4 separate regions of the Homo sapiens genome follow, and all the other regions are linked to region 2. Evidence: promoter capture Hi-C in 16 types of primary human blood cells and fetal thymus (Javierre and others, 2016). All regions are on one chromosome and are shown on one strand. The core of a region is centred on a gene start or on the middle of the fragment in contact, and the rest is flanking DNA. Distances in the headings are between cores, read along the strand shown. Region 1 overlaps LMBRD2 (LMBR1 domain containing 2). Region 2 holds the start of GOLPH3 (golgi phosphoprotein 3). Region 3 overlaps LOC124900962 (a long non-coding RNA gene). Region 4 has its middle 6.8 kb from the start of NIPBL-DT.

Evidence for each region. Contacts are between HindIII fragments. The CHiCAGO score rates a contact against its expected background, and 5 or more counts as called.
Region 1: a contact is called between a fragment that was not itself captured here and the fragment with the promoter of GOLPH3 in region 2, in 5 of 17 cell types (total CD4 T cells, non-activated CD4 T cells, total CD8 T cells and 2 more). The highest score is 6.6, in total CD4 T cells.
Region 3: a contact is called between a fragment that was not itself captured here and the fragment with the promoter of GOLPH3 in region 2, in 1 of 17 cell types (total CD8 T cells). The highest score is 5.9, in total CD8 T cells.
Region 4: a contact is called between a fragment that was not itself captured here and the fragment with the promoter of GOLPH3 in region 2, in 1 of 17 cell types (total CD8 T cells). The highest score is 6.2, in total CD8 T cells.

What each region holds. Positions count from the first base shown.
Region 1 is chr5:36,148,322-36,151,021 of GRCh38, reverse strand. The region is part of intron 1 of LMBRD2 (LMBR1 domain containing 2); the gene reads left to right. Among named protein-coding and RNA genes, the nearest start is that of MIR580, 1.7 kb to the right of the region's middle. The HindIII fragment of the contact is 2,220 bases long and covers 196-2,415 here.
Region 2 is chr5:32,172,885-32,175,584 of GRCh38, reverse strand. GOLPH3 (golgi phosphoprotein 3) reads left to right here and starts at 1,266. Exons shown (of 4, transcript NM_022130.4): 1 at 1,266-1,775. The coding sequence starts at 1,551. RefSeq lists a silencer at 1,373-1,982. The HindIII fragment of the contact is 5,568 bases long and covers 1-2,259 here.
Region 3 is chr5:36,244,133-36,247,000 of GRCh38, reverse strand. All of the region lies in intron 1 of LOC124900962 (a long non-coding RNA gene), which reads right to left. RANBP3L (RAN binding protein 3 like) reads left to right here. Exons shown (of 14, transcript NM_145000.5): 14 at 1-88. Among named protein-coding and RNA genes, the nearest start is that of NADK2, 3.6 kb to the right of the region's middle. The HindIII fragment of the contact is 1,662 bases long and covers 741-2,402 here.
Region 4 is chr5:36,868,452-36,871,292 of GRCh38, reverse strand. No RefSeq gene overlaps it. Among named protein-coding and RNA genes, the nearest start is that of NIPBL-DT, 6.8 kb to the left of the region's middle. The HindIII fragment of the contact is 1,941 bases long and covers 578-2,518 here.

The DNA of each region.
Region 1 (2,700 bases), core at 56-2,555, 4.0 Mb before region 2:
AAGAGGGAAGGGGGATGAATTCTAAGCCTCATAAAAATGAAGATTTATAAAGTTCATAAGGAAGCATAACAGCTTCATCGCATATTAGAATATTCAGTGATGCTGTATGACACACCCTCTGGTTTCCTTGAAAAAATGATTCGCTCTGTAGTGAAATTAAACCTCCCTTGTGCAGGTATATGCTTGTTTCAAGCTTGGTCCTTAGCTTGAAAAGTAACTGCCTCTTGAGGAAGGAATTCATGAACCTTTAGCTCGTTCTTGAAAGATGAGATTGGTGTAAAGAAGGGATCTGTTCACAACTTGGTTTTGATTGGAACTAGGTGCAGAATCCTAGGCTAAGCCGTTCATCAAACTAATGTTATATGGAAAGCATTTTAAAATGCAATATCCTGATGTTTTACAGAAAGTGACCTTTATGTTACTTTGGCTAAGGAGAAAGCATTTGCCTTTGTTTGAAGCTACGTCCTTTCCCTGAAGATTGCAACTCATAGGAGAAAATATTTTTGACACAAAAAATTATAGTTTCCTTCAGGAAAGGGAACAAAACAGAGAGAGCCTGTAAGCTAATGGAGGAGAAAGAATAAACAAAAATATTTAAGATGCCATAATGAGAATAAACAGTTTTGAGATGTAAAATAATTGGGAGAGCCCACTTCAGATATAGATCTCATAGATAGGAAGGTTTAATCGATGAGATGATTCTAAATTTAAAGATGAGAAATATCTTTGTTCAGTCTTGGTTTTACTAGGAGTTACCTGGGAACTAGAATACTTGCAACATCTGAATTAGTGAACACAAGATCCTCTCTAGGACTTCAGGGAGAGCCTGTCAGTTTTGAAATTCAGTTTGATAGTTTGCCCCGGTAACAGACATACTTCATCTTCCTAATATGGGAATAATTTTTTTTTGCCTTCCTTCTAATCATGACTATTGCCTTAATATAATAAATGCAAGTTTAAATTGGTACATTAGATTCTTTTTAACGTAAGGAATTGTGTCCATTGAAGACGAGATTAGTAGGTACATAGAGGTTGCTATCTGGTCATAAAGAACTGCATTGTGATTGCTACTGATGTATCTTATTTTTTCTGATTAATTTTATTTTTATTTTTTGAGAAGAAATTTCACTCTTATTGCCCAGGCTGGAGTGCAATGGCGCAATCTCGGCTCACCATAACCTCCACCTCCCATGTTCAAGCAATTCCCCTGCCTCAGCCTTCCTGAGTAGCTGGGATTACAGGCATGCGCCACCACGCCTGGCTAATTTTGTATTTTTAGTGGAGACGGGGTTTCTGCATGTTGGTCAGGCTGGTCTCGAACTCCCGACCTCAGATGATCCACCCACCTCAGCCTCCTAAAGTGCTGAGATTACAGGCGTGAGCCTCCGTGCCCAGCCGATTCTTACATCTCTTTAAAAGGAAGACGGTCCACCCTTCTTTGTTTCTCCATCCTGCTGTCTAGATGATGATAGGATTCCTGGAGTTCCAGCATCTGTCCTGGAACATAAGGATTAAAGCCACCTGCTAAGGATGTGGACTATAGAAGGGGCCTGGGCCTCTGATAATCTGCTAACTTGCCATAACCACCTATCTCAAGACTTACACGAGAAATAAATTCTGCATTGTATAAGTCTGTACTATATTGGACTTTTCTGTTATGTGTAGCCAAACTAATCTTGAATAATGTATTTCCAGAACTGATAGTCTCTGTGGTGGTGGCAGCTACCTGTTTACATAACCCTTATCACCCCCTAATGTATTTTTTTTAATTGCCTGTTTCTTCCCACTAGACTTTTTAAGGGCAGGGACTTTGCTTGGATTTTTCTATCTCCAGCCCCTTGAACAGAGCTCACCATATAGTAGGCGTTCAGTAAATATTTGCTAAATGAATGAATGGTGCTTGGAACTAAGTAGATCTTTAATTCATTGTAATTTAATGCTCTAAGATAGGCAGCTTGGGGCAAGAACAAACGGATTCTAATTTACTCTATGTTTTCCACTTTTCCCATGTAGAGTACAGTCATATATTACCCTTAAATCAAGTAATAGTAGTATAATCTGTAATGTAAAAAGTTTGCGTTAAATTCTTTATTAAACATGACTAAGCATTCTGTCCTGATATATCTAAAAGAAATGGGAGAAAGTTTCTAATTTGTTCCCTGTGAAGACTGAACAAAATAAATCATTAAGCAATTTAAATTGCATTAAGAAACTATGTCTAGATTAGAGAAGAGACATGTAATTATGATCCAGGCTCTGTAGTAAAGATGCCTCTATTTGAATCCCAGCTTTACCATTCACCAGCTCTGTTAACTTGGACAAGTTACTTAACCTCTCTGCACTGTTTTTTTTCTGTTAAGCAAGGAAACGAACAGCCCTTTCTTACTAGGTTGTGAGGTCTAATTTGATAAAGCTTGGCAGGTACTAGTATTAATACAATGCTTAAAATTTAGTGAACACATTCTAAATGTTAGCTATTCGTTTTTTGAAATTATTTTATTATTAGGAAGGACTTTACAGATTATTCTCTATCAAAATGTCTTGCAATTTCTATGTATGAAATCTTTAAGAATTCAGTAAAATTTTAGTTCTTTTTTCTTATATGCTTACATGATTGCTACCTCTTCTCTTCATGCCTTGCAAAAGGTAAAGCAGGACAGTATGCCACTGTCCTCAGGGGCTTGTCACATTTTGGAATTC
Region 2 (2,700 bases), core at 17-2,516:
AGCTTGCAGTGAGCCGAGATTGTGCCACTGCACCCCAGCCTGGGCAACAGAGCAAGACTCCGTCTCAAAAAAAAAAAAAAAAAAAAAAAAAAGAGGGTGTGAATGGGAGAAATTGGTTGAGGTGAAATCGACCTTCACCAAGACAGGTGGGAAAAAGGGAAGGTCTACTTGGTGTGCCCCCTGGACCCTCTCTTCCCTTCATTTAGCACTGTCACTTTCCAGGGCATGGGATGGTAGGCAGCAGCAGTTCTGGATAATGGATTTGTGGAAGAGAAGAATCCATCTAAAGCACTCTTTAGCCACAGCCCATGATCACTTTTTTTAAAAAATTTTTATTTTTTGCTTTGCTGTTGTTCCACTCTGTCCATACATTGTTTAATACAGGATGGCACACAATACCATTCCTGGTTAAATGTTTCACTTAACAAGCGCCACCCTCTACTCCTCCAACTCCTGTCTCAGGTTTGACAGCTATTTTTTTAACCTAATTTGCGCACGCCAAGAGGATTTCACCTAGTAACTACACGGAGAGACATCCGATGCGTACAAAGACGTGGCATGAAACGCTGCAGGTTTATTGTCTCTATAAAAAGATCGTTAAGGTCGAGCGTGCTAACGTGTGCGGTACTAACTGTACTCACTACGCCCTGGTCACTTTATAGCACAAGTCCGAGGCAAGGAAAGAAGTTTTACAAACAAAACTGGTCAACTGTTCTATCTTCTTACTCCTGGAAAACAATAAAGGTCCACTTTCAAACCATTTGGACGCACTTGCTCCTTCTAAAGGGTTAGGGAGTCCCGGCAGATAGCGTACCCCTCCCCGCCCAGCAGCAGAGAGCAAAGTCCTTCCTGCCGATCCTGCAGACCCCGGAGTCCAAATGGGACCCCGTCCACACGACCGCGGAGTCGCCTCCGAAGACGGCGGTGTCTGGGGCGTGGAGGGCACGGCTGGAGGCTGAGTGGGGTCCACCTTCGCGTGGCCCAGGCTCTTCCATTCACGGGGGGCCCCGCCAGGTTCAGGCTCCAGCCCTGGGTAGTGAAGGGGAAACGGGGAACGGAAGGAGGGAGGGCACGTCACGGGAGCAGGACTGCAGGACCGCGGGTCAGGGGGCGCAGGAACGCCAAAGAAAAGACAAGCACCGAGGGCCGGGAAGGGTGTAGGCTGCAGTGGCAGCGGATCCCCGGCCGCCGCTTCCGGCGCCTCCCGGCCCAGCTCTCCCGCGCCGACTCTGCCACATCCTCCGGTGACGTCAGCCGGGGCCGCCATATTGGAAAGGCGCCGCCGCCGCCTCCGCCTTGGAGCTCGGGGTGTTTCGGGGACTGCGGCCACAGGCAGGAAGGCGCTCCTCTCCTGCCCCGCCGACGCCCGGCCAGCCCGCTTCGCCCTGACCTGTTTCCTCATGACTGCCCCCGGCCCTGCTGCCGACGGACGTCGCCCCGGCGTCCGGATTTAACACGGAAACCCGGATCGGAGGCCGCGCGGGGAGGAGGAGGGCGACCCGGTCGGTCCTGCGACCCTCTCGGCCCGGCTCGGCGCCTCGGCGGGAGCCATGACCTCGCTGACCCAGCGCAGCTCCGGCCTGGTGCAGCGGCGCACCGAGGCCTCCCGCAACGCCGCCGACAAGGAGCGGGCGGCGGGCGGCGGCGCCGGCAGCAGCGAGGACGACGCGCAGAGCCGCCGCGACGAGCAGGACGACGACGACAAGGGCGACTCCAAGGAAACGCGGCTGACCCTGATGGAGGAAGTGCTCCTGCTGGGCCTCAAGGACCGCGAGGTGCGGGCGCGGCGGGCTGGGCGGGGGGCGGCGGCGCGGGGCCCGGGCGCCAGGTGAGCTCCAGGTAGGTGCCAGGTGAGCGCCCGAGGCTTCCGGCCCGCGCACCTGCCCTCGCTCCGAAGTCCGCGCCTGGTGGCGCCCAGCTGACGCCGAGCGGTGTCGGAGTTGGTTGACCCCCTGGCGCGGCTGGTGCTTTCTGGATCCTCCCCGTAGAGATGGCTTGGATTTTTCCTTACCCCTTTCACAGTCGCTCCTTTCATTTCGACACCCTGGCAGTTTGTATTTCTTCGTCGCCTTTTTTCCGCGTTTTTAACCCGTGTAGACCCCAGGGTGCAAATCCAACCCGGAGACTGCCCGGGAAACTAACAGCTGGAGCCACCAGCGCCACGAACTCTTTGGGTTTTTGCAGGCTTTAGGACCTGGGAGGGGTGCCCGGATCTGCTTGCTGGGGATGTTTTTTTTTTCTTCTTCTTCAGTTAAAGCTTACTGTTGGGAATTACGAAAAACGTAGGCGAAGTGGTAATAGAGGGAAAAGCTCTTTTACTGAGTAAAGTTAAGTTAAGTTTCTCATGAAACCTCCTGGTAAATGACTTTCTAGGTGAACTTACATTAGGTGAGAGATTATTTTTAGTATCGCTTTTATATTTTATCAGTTGATGAATCTCAAAGTCTTGCCGTCTTAAGAAAGGGCTTTTTCATCGAGTGCTTGAAATGTAGGTTTGTGAGTTGATCAGAGGCCTCAAAGCTTCAGGTGGGTTGAAGTTGCAATAGATAATTCTTTGTATTCTGACTTTGAAAGCGTTTATTTTCACTTCAGTGTCCAAAATTTTCACACACAGAAAAGTTGAAAAAGTGATAGATACATATGCATATATACTCTTTCTAGATTCTATGACGTTTTGCTGTATTTGTTATATTTGCCTAC
Region 3 (2,868 bases), core at 322-2,821, 4.1 Mb before region 2:
GTTAAGACAACCTTAACTTTCTTTTAGTAAGATTTTACCCAACTGTTTACCCTAATTATAGACAATTAAAATGTTCTCTCTTAAAAAATATTATTTTCCATCCATTACTGCCAAAACAAGGAACGCTTTTTCGCCAGGAGAATACATCCTATACAGCAGTGGTAACCAACCTTTTTGGCACCAGGGACTGGTTTTGTGGAAGACAATTTTTCCACAGGCTAGGGGGTGGGTAGGGTGGGGGTGGTTTTGGGATGAAGCTGTTCCACCTCAGATCATCAGGCATTAGAGTCTCATACGGAGCGTGCAACCTAGGTGCCTTGCATGAGCAGTTTACAGTAGTGTTTGCATCCTATGAGAATCTAATGCTGCCTCTGATCTGACAGCAGGCAGAGCTCAGGCAGTAACGCAAATTATGGGAAGCAACTGTAAATACAGATGAAGCTTCACCCCCTTGCCTGCCGCTCCTCTCCTGCTGTGTGGCCCGGTTCCTAATAGGCCAGGGACCGATACTGGTCCACAGCTCGGGGGTGGTGGACCCCTGCTATACAGGTCTTAGAGTATTTGAATGTCATAAAAAGAGGTATATATGTCTTTCATAGAGTCAGAATGAACATGAAGTGGGGGTGGGAAGGGTTCTGGGGGTTGGGAAGGATATATTTTAAAACCTCTGTAAATCTTCAAGTTGTGAATACCACAGTGATATATAATTTTCCCCATAAAATGTTGAGAACAGTTAAGCTTGCTTGAGATATGGCTATCACATGGTTGGCTAGACTCATTTACTAGAAAAGCACACCAGCCTCACCATAGATGGAGTCTGAGTTTAAAACTCAAAAATCCATGAATGCCAGCAGTTTTGTTTGGGAGGGTGAGGTCGGCGGATTGCCTGAGCCCAGGAGTTCAGGACCAGCCCGGGGAACATTGCACAACACCCCATTTCTACAAAAATTTCTAAAAATTAGCAGGGTGGCTGGGCGTGGTGGCTCACGCCTGTAATCCCAGCACTTTGGGAGGCCGAGGCAGGCGGATCATGAGGTCAGGAGTTCTCAGGACCAGCCTGGCCAGGATGGTGAAACCCCGTCTCTACTAAATATACAAAAATTAGCCAGGCGTTGTGGCATGCACCTGTAATCCCAGCTACTCGAGAGGCTGAGGCGAGAATTGCTTAAACCGGGAGGCGGAGGTTGCAGTAAGTCGAGATGGTGCCACTGCACTCCAGCCAGGGTGACAGAGCGAGACTCCATCTCAAAAAAAAAAAAAAATTAGCAGGGCATGGTGACACGCATCTGTAATCCCAGCTACCTGGGAGGCTGAGGTAGGAGGATTGCCTGAGCCTGGGAGGTTGCAGCTGTGTGAGCCATGCGGTGCAGTGCCACTGCACTCCAGCCTAGGGGATAGAGTAAGACCCTGTCTCAGGAAAAAAAAAAAAAAAAGATATTTGTAAACTATGGCACTGGAAGGAAGAATTATTGAAATGATTAGCTAATGTTTAGCCTAATCAAGACTTGATATGGATAAGTTTTCTAACAGAGTGTTACCAAGATTTCTTAATTTCTACCAATCTAGTGGATATAAAATATTATTTCACAATGACATTATTTGTATTTCTCTAATTTCCAATAAGGTTATCTTTTCAAGTATTTATTCACTGTTTGTGTTTCTTCTAAAAAATTCCTGCTCACGCCTGGGCACAGTGGCTCACACCTGTAATCCCAGCACTTTGAGAGGCCGAGGTGGGTGGATCATGAGGTCAGGAGATCGAGACCATTCTGGCTAAGATGGTGAAACCCTGTCTCTACTAAAAATACAAAAAATTAGCCAGGCCTGGTGGCACGCACCTGTAGTCCCAGCTACTCTGGAGGCTGAGGCAGGAGAATCCCTTGAACTCGGGAGGCGGAGGTTGCAGTGAGCTGAGATTGCACCACTGCACTCCAGTATGGACGACAGAGCGAAACTCCATCTCAAAAAAAAAAAAATTCACAATTTTTGCAAAGCTAATCATGTCATTTTCTCCTTTTGGTTGCCTCCTAATATATGCAGGATAAAAGGCAGGTTCCTAAGCATGGATTTAACATTTTCCATTGTCTTTACCCTTGTCTACCTCTCTAGCCTCACTTCCCCATGTTGCCTGCCTCTCTCTAAATTCTCTAAAATTTCAAAATTGCTAGTTCATTGCTTCTATGCATTTGTTCATGGTGTTTCTTCTGTGGAATTTCCTTCTCATTCTTGCTGATAATGGCTAATATTGAATTCATTACTTAAGGCTTAGCTCTTCACATTCCCAAAAAGCCTTCTCTAACTCTTGTTAGGTTGACTTGAGACTTGCTCCTCCAAATTTCTCAGCATTCTGTGTATAACTCTATCACTGCATAGACTTTAGGCTCCTCAAGGGCATGGAAGCTTTTTATCATTTCATCTGTAGCACCTAGCAGGATGCCTGGCCTACAGTGACACTCAAATTTAATTTAATCTCCACGAATGTGTGTTACATGTGTAAGATTTAAGAGACATTATCTAAAAGGAAACTAGATAAGGATTGGAAATTCAAGAGAAAGATCTGGGCTAAAGATGCCAGTAATAGCTGAGGTCATGAAAGGGGCTAATATTTGCCAAGTGTCTACTGTGTAATGGGCACAGTGCTAAGCATCTGTGCATATATTCACAATTTTACAAGGTAGCAATTATATTTTATAAATGCAGAAGTAGTCTCAGGAAGGTTAAACAACCAGTTCAAGTTTCACAAAGCTAATAAACAATAAAACTGAGATTTGAACCAAGATCCTTCCATTACACAACACTGAATGAACTCAGGAGCGTGTGTGTGTGACAGAGAGAGAGAGAGAGAAGGAAAAAAGACGGAGAAGAAGA
Region 4 (2,841 bases), core at 299-2,798, 4.7 Mb before region 2:
AAGCAAATTTCTATCTTTCACAGAGTAATTATCATAGGAACAAATTACTCCCTGAAAATGGTGGAAACTTCTTTCTCCCTCCGAAAAATAAACTTTCAATAAGTGTTTTCTCTCTAGCCAAAGTAAATAAGTTCTTAAATAGGTAACTCTCATTTGCCATCCAACTCATTCTATATATTTAAATAAATGTACTTACACTTGTGTATAGGATTTAAAAGGGGGAAACTTAAGAAGGAAGAAATTGTGTATAGAATTTAAAAAGGAGGCATTATATTGCATGAGTAGAATGAAAAGTATCTAACCAGAAAGCAAATAAGTTAAGGATTATATTATACTGAAATATTTTAATACAATTTAAATATTTCATTACTCTTTCACTTTATTTGCTATTTGTAGATTTCAGTATTGTAATGTTGGCAAGTCTATTTAAGACGGCATTAATAAAAATTTTGTTTTTCAGGCATGTGATACCAAGTCCCTTTCCATTATAGATAAGTAAGGCCTAGGTTGGTTAAAACCTTAGCTAAACACAAAATTTGCTAGAGAATCAACATATAAGAAGCTCTAACTCCAAGCTTATTCACCCCAGATATTTCACCAATGTTAACACATACCCTATTGAACTAAGAAAGGAATTATATTACTAACCAGCAGAGGGAGCCAAGTCAATCATGAAAGGTAGGAGTATAAAGGAACATCATATGACTTCCTGTTTTGAATTTAACTGTATGGCCCCTGCTCACTTTTTGAGTTTACCAAAAAGACAGTCATAAGGAGAGAAAGGCGACCAATGTATCAAATAAGGATACAGTGACAATTATAACTTAGAATTACCTTGCAGGAAATAAATTGGAAGAAAAATTGAATGCAGAACTATACAAGTGAAATGTCTCAGTATTATAACCCAAGATGGAAAAACCATGGAAAACAGTACCTTAATGCCATGATGAATTGCTAGCCAAATGTAACAGTGAATATTTCTTAATAATTCCATTTTCACTTAAAGTTGAAATTAGGCCATAAATAGACACATTTTAAAACTATAAAGTTGTACATCAAATTTATGTGCATTTAATCTAAGAAATAAGGGATAAAATTTAATAAAAAATTATTACAGTGAATTAATAAGGACATGATTTTTCAGCTTAAAATTAGAGAACAGAATTGTTTCCACTACTGTTTATAAACACAACAAATAAAGTAATATCTGTTTTGTGAGAGATGTTTGGAGGAATCTAGTAGCTAAGTGATTATGTCAGTTTATTTAATTTTGTCTAAGAACTTCAAAATGCCTGATAGAATGGGTGCATATTGAATGAATAGATGTGATCTATATATTATTTGAAGTAAAAGTATAAGAGCTGAGCGTTAGCTAACTGCATCAAAATAAATGTAAAGACCCAAACATTTTTAGTTGAATAACCAAATGAATTAGCTAGTCTAGCCCCTTACTCGTTTCAAGGTTTGTGGAAACATACCATATATACTTTTACTCATGTGTTTATTCCTTTCAAAAATATACTTCTTAAGCACTATCTCCATAGGACGTGGAGCATATCTTCATTATGAAGTAGACAAACTTCTTAAATTTTATTGAAAGATTTAATTTCATTGATATATGAACAATCATACAAATTCAGTATGCCACCAGTGATTTCAAGAAAGTGATACTTAGAAGCAAATCATTTATGGGACTAGACTGCCTTTGTAGGACTAACAAATTAGGCACAAGATTAGAAATTATAGTTTAATAGTCATGCAGCTGGAGGCTACACGATTCTGACCCTCCCTAACCTGCTCCTAAGATCAGTGCTTGAGATATTCTGCAGACCCTGCACTTGATGGATCAGCTGGCACCACCCAGATCAATAAACTGGCTCATCTGATCTTGTGGCCACCACCCAGGAACTGATTCAGAGCAAGAGGACTGCTTCAATTCCCTATGATTTCATCTCCAACCCAACCAATCAGCACACTCTATTCACTTGCCTTCCCCCACCCACCAAATTATCCTTAAAAACTGATCCCCAAATGCTCCAGGAGACTGATTTGAGTTATAATAAAACTCCGATCTCCAGCCAAAAAATAAAAAATAAAAAGCAAATTATTTGATTTTGAGTACTAGAAAGTAGACTTTAAACTTTTTGAAGGGTATATTCTTTTATAATGCTATATTATACTGGCATTATTTTATAAATTGGCATTTGGTGTCAAGTCAGTTAATCACAGCGATAATATCCAAGATGTACAGCTCATCAGTCCTAGAGACATTTTTTTTTGTTTGTTTAAGACAGAGTCTCTGTCACCCAGGCTGGAGTGCTGCAGTGGTGCGATCTCGCCTGCCTCGGCCTCCCAAAGTGCTGAGATTACAGGCGTGAGCCACTGCGCCCAGCCTAGAGACATTTTAATGCCAAAAAACCCTCAATGCCACCAGTATTACTACTTCTAATTATTTGTTTCCTTTACACACGAGTTGTGATGAATATGGGCTATTAGAATTGCATAAACAGCCTAAGCTTTTAAATGTTTCCACTCATGAAAAATAGCTATTATGAACTTTTAAACATTAAATTAATAAAGTGCAATAGCTTTACCATGAACTATTCCTTATTGATAAACATAGTAATGGGTTAACTCATGTCAAAGTCCAATAAAAACTAGTAACTTTGTCACCAAAGTCAACATTTCAGCATCTATGATATGTAGTATAGGTATTTCTGTTTTATCTAGTTTTCATTTAATAATCTAAAAGATTCTGGCCGGGCACGGTAGCTCACGCCTGTAATCCCAGCACTTTGAGAGGCCGAGGGAGGCAGATCACGAAGTCAGGAGATAGAGACC